Regions from separate parts of the Homo sapiens genome. Here region 2 is linked to region 1. The links are contacts of gene promoters, found by promoter capture Hi-C in blood cells and fetal thymus (Javierre and others, 2016). All regions are on one chromosome and are shown on one strand. The core of a region is centred on a gene start or on the middle of the fragment in contact, and the rest is flanking DNA. Distances in the headings are between cores, read along the strand shown. Region 1 holds the start of ALOX15B (arachidonate 15-lipoxygenase type B). Region 2 has its middle 30 kb from the start of GUCY2D.

Region 1 (3,608 bases), core at 404-2,903:
CAGTTGGCTTTCATGAAACACTGTGACAGGCACAAGAGGACAAAGTGTCTGCCGGCATCGTTCTCCTCCTACCTCATTGACTGAACTTTGCTGCTTCCACTCCTTTGCATGACTTCCAAATATCAGAGGACCTTAGGGCACAGCTTGTGCCTCTTCTCTTCTCTACTTATAGGATATTCTCTGCCTAGTGATCTCCACCAGCCTGTGGTATAGATGTACCTGTGTGCTTGTGACTCAAAGATGCACACCTGCAGTCCTGAGCTCTATGCCCAGACGTGGGTTCTCCACTTGGATGTCTAATGGCCATCTCAAACTTAGCATCTCCAGACCGAAAACCCCAAATCTGTTATGTTATTCCCCCAAAGCCCAAATCCATAACTTCCCCTTGGCATCTCTCCCCCAAATCCCTCCCTCACTGCACTCTTGCCTTTCCCTCCTCCAACAAGCCAAGCTTTTCCTAACCACAGGGCCTCTTCAGGAACAGTTTCCTCTGCACAAAACTCTGTTCCCCAGACAGATCCTTTCACCTCCTCTGAGGCTCTGAACGCCTCCCTTCCCACCTCTGCTTCTCACTCCTTCACATTAGTCTGTTTCATTTCCTTCATTGCACTTATTATCATCTGAAATTATGTGTTGGTTTACTTATTTTCTCTCACACTTGATTTTTTTTTTTTAGACCGAGATTTGCTCTGTCGCCCATGCTGGAGTGCAATGGCACAACTTCACCTCACTGAAACCTCCGCCTTCCGGGTTCAAGCTATTCTCCTGCCTCAGCCTCCTGAGTAGCTGGGACTACAGGCGCCCGCCACCACGCTTGGCTAATTTTTTTGTATTTTTAGTAGAGATGGGGTTTCACCATGTTGGCCAGCAACTGTGCCTGGCCTCACACTTGATTTTTAATCTCCATGAGAGCAAGCACTAGGTCTTGCCTGGGCCTTTATCAATAGCAGTGAGCATAGCACCTGGCACAGAGGTAGTTCTGAACATTAATTATTGAATGAAATAAAATAATGAATGTAGGCTGGGCGCGGTGGCTCACGCCTGTAATCCCAGCACTTTGGGAGGCCGAGGCAGGCGGATCATGAGGTCAAGAGATCAAGATCATCCTGGCCTACATGGTGGAACCCCGTCTCTACTAAAATACAAAAATTAGCTGGGCATGGTGGCACTCGCCTGTTGTCTCAGCTACTGGGGAGGCTGAGGTAGGAGAATCACTTGAACCCAGGAGGAGGAGGTTCCAGTGAGCCGAGATCATGCTGCTGCACTCCAGCCTGGCGACAGAGCAAGCCTCTGTCTCAAAAATAAATAAATAAATAAATTTTAAAAATAATGAACGCAGGCCCAAGAAGAGTTGTGGGAAATGGGGTGATATTTTTGCATAGACTTCTAAGGCTAAGAAGGAAAACAAACAGACGTGGTGGGCACAAATCTACCCCCACCCCAACTGGGTCCCAACTCTAGGCTCTCTGGCCTGGCACCACCACTGAAAGGCCCCGTTCCCCAAACCTCAGGGTATTCTTAGTCCCTCCTGTTCCCAGCGCTGCCAATCCCCCGCCCACCCCCACTTTAGTTGCGTGTTCCAGCCTCTCCGCCCCGCCCCTCCCCGCCCTGAAACGGACGTGCTTTTTAGAGGAGTCCACTGGGCTTGGAGTCAGTGGCAATAACCAGGGGCAATAACCAGGCGTGTCCCAGGGGGGAGCCCCGCTCTGCAGCCCTGTGCGCCGTAGAGAGCTGGACTTAGGCTGGCAGCATGGCCGAGTTCAGGGTCAGGGTGTCCACCGGAGAAGCCTTCGGGGCTGGCACATGGGACAAAGTGTCTGTCAGCATCGTGGGGACCCGGGGAGAGAGCCCCCCACTGCCCCTGGACAATCTCGGCAAGGAGTTCACTGCGGGCGCTGTGAGTGCGTGGGAGTGGATGGGGTGGAGGTGAAGGGGGCGAGCAGGAGGGTCCGGCCTGACGCATACTTAACCTCCCCTCAGGAGGAGGACTTCCAGGTGACGCTCCCGGAGGACGTAGGCCGAGTGCTGCTGCTGCGCGTGCACAAGGCGCCCCCAGTGCTGCCCCTGCTGGGGCCCCTGGCCCCGGATGCCTGGTTCTGCCGCTGGTTCCAGCTGACACCGCCGCGGGGCGGCCACCTCCTCTTCCCCTGCTACCAGTGGCTGGAGGGGGCGGGGACCCTGGTGCTGCAGGAGGGTACAGGTGAGGGGCGGGCCGGGCTGGGGCTGCAGGGGGAGCACAGGAAGGGGTAGGGGACTGGGGGTTGGGGAGAAGGGCAGGTGAAATGGAGAGGTGAGCTGGTGTGGCCACAGAGTAGCGGGCAGAGGAGAGGGAATGGCGGAGCCTTGGGGAGCGGGAGGTAGCAGCCTGGTGTAGGAGAAACTGTACTTATGGGAGGAGGGGACCTGGTAGAGGGTGGCAATCGTGGAGACTGTGTGGCTGGTGGTAGTGATGGTGAGTTTCTCTCCCCACCCCAACCTACTCCCCTTCTCCCACAGCCAAGGTGTCCTGGGCAGACCACCACCCTGTGCTCCAGCAACAGCGCCAGGAGGAGCTTCAGGCCCGGCAGGAGATGTACCAGTGAGGAGGGGGTTACTGATGGGGGAGGGTGTGCCCAAACGATGAGGGGCAGCTTGAGTGTCCTGGTCATGACAGAGATTAAAAGCCCCTGCCTCCACCTCTCCTATCAAAGCTGCTCCTGGGATCAGCAGCGTCTACAGGAACGTATTAGAAATGCAAATTCTCAGGCCACCTCCAACCTACTACGACACTGAGGGTGTAGAGTGGGAATTTTTGTTTTGACAAGCCTTCCAGATGACTCTGGTGGCCACTGATGTTTGAAAAACACTGCTCTAGGGCCAGGTGCCGTGGTGGCTCACACCTGTAATCTCAGCACTTTGGGAGGCTGAGGGAGGCGGATCACTGGAGGTCGGGAGTTCGAGACCAGCCTGGCCAACAGGGCGAAACCCCATCTCTACTAAAAATACAAAAATCAGCTGGGTAGGGTGGCGGGCACCTGTATTCTCAGCTACATGGGAGGCTGAGGCAGAAGAATAGCTTGAACCCGGGTGGTGGAGGTTGCAGTGAGCCGATCACGCCATTGCACTCCAGCATGGGGGACAGAGCAAAACTCCATCTCAAAAAAAGAAAAAAAAAAAGGAAGGAAGGAAAAGGAAGGAAAGAGAGAAAGAAAGAGAGAGAAAGAAAGAAAGAAAGAAAGAAAGAAAGAAAGAAAGAAAGAAAGAAAGAAAAGAAAGAGAAAGAAACTGCTTTAAATGCCTTACCTTTGCTGGTGTCTTCCTTGCCCTGGGACTTTTTCATGCATCGGCTTGTTGTGTCCTCCCAGAAATCTGAGTAGAGCCAGAAACACGCCCTTCAAGCCCCAGGAAACTCACCCTCCAGGGCTAGCAAGGGGTGAGATGGGGGCTCTCTCTGTGCTCTGGGCTCAGCATTGGAGATCACAGGGGAAAACTGGGACTTGGAGATAACAGAGGAGTTGGGGCCGCTAGTGAGGATTCCCTTGGCACAAAGCCAGGAACTGCATTCAGAAACAGATTTTCAAAAGATCTTGATCCGGCCAACTCATCTGCTATCTAAAGCCTGGGCTGCA
Region 2 (3,449 bases), core at 875-3,374, 66 kb before region 1:
GCCTGTAATCCCAGCTACTCAGGAAGCCGAGGCACCCTAATTGTTTGAACCCGGGAGGTTGAGGTTGCAGTGAGCTGAAATCACGCCACTGCACTCCAGTCTGGGCAACAGAGTGAGACCTTGTCTCAAAATAAATTTAAAAAAAAATTTTTAAGAACCACCCAAAAGCTGACTTTTCATTCATTTCCAAACCTGCTTTTGAGGCTGGACTTTTTAATTTCTTCCTTTTTAAAATTTTTACCTTAGAGACAGGGTCTCACTGTGGCACCCAGGCTGGGGTGTAATGGGACCATCACAGCTCACTGCAACCTCAAACTCCTGGGCTCAAAAAAGTAATCCTCCCGGATTAGGCTCCCAAAGTGCTGGGATTACAGGTGCATACCACTATACCTGGCCTTTTGTATTTCTTAGAATTGCATTTTAACATTCATATGAGGAGAACACACACAAGTTTAAAAACAGGCGTTTCCTCTGACCTCAGCTGGCTTAGACAGAAGGTGAAGAAAGGTTATGTTCTGCAGGATCTTTTAAATAAATGGTTTTTAAGAGGTGTCAGTTGCCAAAATGCAAATAGGTGGGAAAAAATAAAAAAGGCGTCAGCCGGCTTTTAACTCTTTAAACAAAAACTGTGAAAGTCTCATAGCCTCAGCCCAGGCATCCCCAGGCAGAAACAAGGACTAGATAAAAGCAGGGAGAGTTGATCATTGACTCAATTAGGCTGAATCAATCTTGTCATTGAGTTCCCAAGGAAATTCAATTACAGGTCAAGTGTAGGAAGCCCTGTGATTGTGGCTTAAGCAGTAGAAATGCCAGGTAGTCGATAGCAGCCTGGGGATGGATTTGACTTCAAAGCCCCTGAATCTGTAGTGGGAAGAAAAGGCAGGAGAGTTGTCGAGAGGAAGAGGCTCCTGGAGTTGAAGAACCAACCATCAAGAGGTTTGCCCCAGGCCAAGGGGGCACTGGACAGACAGGGCACCAGAAATGGCACTGCCACCCCCACCAGCCCAGGTACCCGACCTGACGGTAGTGACTCACCAGCCAGAAGGGCTCATGTGTAGAACCTTCAAGACTCAGTAGGAGACTCCAGCACCAGCATCTCCAGCTAAGTTGAATTGTCTGTGTGGCCAGAAACTGCACTACCAAGGCCAAGGCCAGAGGGTGGGGCAGTAGGCTCTGTAGGGAGAGCAAAAGTCATGGTGGAGGCCAAGAGGCAACTCTCCAGGAATTCCTTTTCCCTGAGGAACTAAGTCTAAGAGAGTCATGGAAGTAACTGATCCCTCTAGCAGTGACACAAATATTGCAAGAGAGTCTTAGAGTCAAAACCCAGAAGCCATAAAAAGACTGATATATTCCACTATGTTAAAAACAGCAAGAAAAAGCTTTTGTATGGCAAAAAAAATTATAACTATATTGTACTGCAGTTTTGTAATATGTTACCACTGGGGGCACTGGACTAAGGATATATGAGATGGCTCCATATTTTTTTTTAACCACTGTATTTGAATCTATATTTATCTCAAAATAAAATGTTTCATTAAACTTTTATATAAAGGCTGGGCGCGGTGGCTCATACCTGTAATCCCAGCAATTCGGGAGGCCGAGGCGGGCGGATCACTTGAGGTCAGGAGTTTGAGACCAGCCTGGCCAACATGGAGAAACCCTGTCTTTACTAAAAATACAAAAAAAAAAAAAAAATTTTAGCTGGATGTGGTAGTGTTCCCTGTAATCCCAGCTACTGGGGAGGCTGAGGCAGGAGAATCGCTGGAACTTGAGAGGCAGAGGTTGCAGTGAGCTGAAATCACGCCATTGCACTCCAGCGTGAGCGACAGAGCGAGACATCATCTCAAAATAGATAGATAGATAGATAAATAAATAAATAAAGTTATAAATAAAAGGCAAAATACATAAAAAGAGCTGGAATAAGTACTTGCAACTCATATCAAAGACCAAGGGCTGGCTGGGTATGGTGGCTCTCACCTGTAATCCCAGCACTTTGGGAGGCCGAGCCAGGCAGATCACCTGAGGTCAGTTCGAGACCAGCCTGGCCAACATGGTGAAACCCCGTCTCTACTAAAAATGCAAAAATTAGCTGAGTATGGTGGCAGATGCCTGTAATCTCAGCTGCTCAGGGGAGGCTGAGGCATGAGAATCACTTGAACCCAGGAGGCGAAGGTTGCAGTGAGCCGAGATTGCGCCACTGCACTCCAGCCTGGGGGATAGAGTGAGACTGTGTCTCAAAAACAAACAAACAAACAAGCAAAAGACCAAGGGCTAATGCTGTAATTTACAAAGAGCTTCTAGAAATTGAGAAGAAAAAGACCACCAATGCAGTTTAAAAAAAACACACACACCACTGCTGGGCACGGTGGCTCACGTCTGTAATCCCAGCACTTTGGGAGGCCGAGGTGGGAGGATCACCTGAGGTCAGGAGTTCGAGAACAGCCTAGCCAACATGGAGAAACCCCATCTCTACTAAAAATACAAAATTAGCCAGGCGTGGTGGCACATGCCTGTAATCCCAGCTACTCAGGAGGCTGAGGCAGGAGAATTGCTTGAACCCAGGAAGCAGAGGTTGTGGTGAGCCAAGATTGCACCATTCCACTCCAGCCTGGGCAACCAGAGCAAAACTCCATCTAAAAAAAAAAAAAAAAAAACTACACACACCACCAATCCAAAACAGAAAGAGCAAAGGACATAAAGAGATAGTTTACACACCAAAAATATAAAAAGTCTTTAAATTCATGAAAAGAAGTTCAACCTTTCTCATAAAACAAATGCAAATTAAAACTATAGTGAGACACCATTTTTTTCTACCAAACAGATTGGTAAAAATCCCCAAATCCTAAAGTTGGACAATGTACTCTGTTGGTGAAGCTTTTTTTGTTTTGTTTTTGAGACGGAGTATCGCTCTGTTGCCCAGGCTGGGGTGCAGTGGTGCGACCTGGGCTCACTGCAAGCTCTGCCTCCCAGATTCAGGCCATTCTCCTGCCTCAGCCTCCCGAGTAGCTGGGACTATAGGTGCCCGCCACCATGCCCGGCTAATTTTTTGTGTTTTTAGTAGAGACAGGGTTTCACCATGTTAGCCAGGATGGTCTCGATCTCCTGACCTCATGATCCACTTGCCTCGGCCTCCCAAAGTGCTGGGATTACAGGCGTGAGCCACCACGCCTGGCCTGGTGAAGCTTTAAGGGAACAGAGACTCTTTGCATTTATGCTTTAACCCAGCATATGGGGCACATATATAAGATATGTTCATGAAATACCAATCCATGCATAAAAATGAAATGACATAGCACAAGGGTATTAATTGAGACACTGTGATAGCAAAAGAGTGGAAACAATTCAAGTGTCTAGTAATGGGGACTTACTGAATAATTTATGGTCCAGCCACATAATGGATTAAATATAATATTGGCTATAAGAAAGAAAGAGGAAGATGTCTATGAACT

Evidence for each region. Contacts are between HindIII fragments. The CHiCAGO score rates a contact against its expected background, and 5 or more counts as called.
Region 2: a fragment that was not itself captured here is called in contact with the fragment with the promoter of ALOX15B in region 1 in 1 of 17 cell types (endothelial precursors); the score reaches 6.0 in endothelial precursors.

Annotation. Positions count from the first base shown.
Region 1 is chr17:8,037,406-8,041,013 of GRCh38, forward strand. It overlaps ALOX15B (arachidonate 15-lipoxygenase type B), which reads left to right and starts at 1,654. Exons shown (of 14, transcript NM_001141.3): 1 at 1,654-1,897; 2 at 1,981-2,200; 3 at 2,497-2,578. The coding sequence starts at 1,751. The HindIII fragment of the contact is 10,323 bases long and covers 450-3,608 here.
Region 2 is chr17:7,971,150-7,974,598 of GRCh38, forward strand. No RefSeq gene overlaps it. Among named protein-coding and RNA genes, the nearest start is that of GUCY2D, 30 kb to the right of the region's middle. The HindIII fragment of the contact is 1,495 bases long and covers 1,378-2,872 here.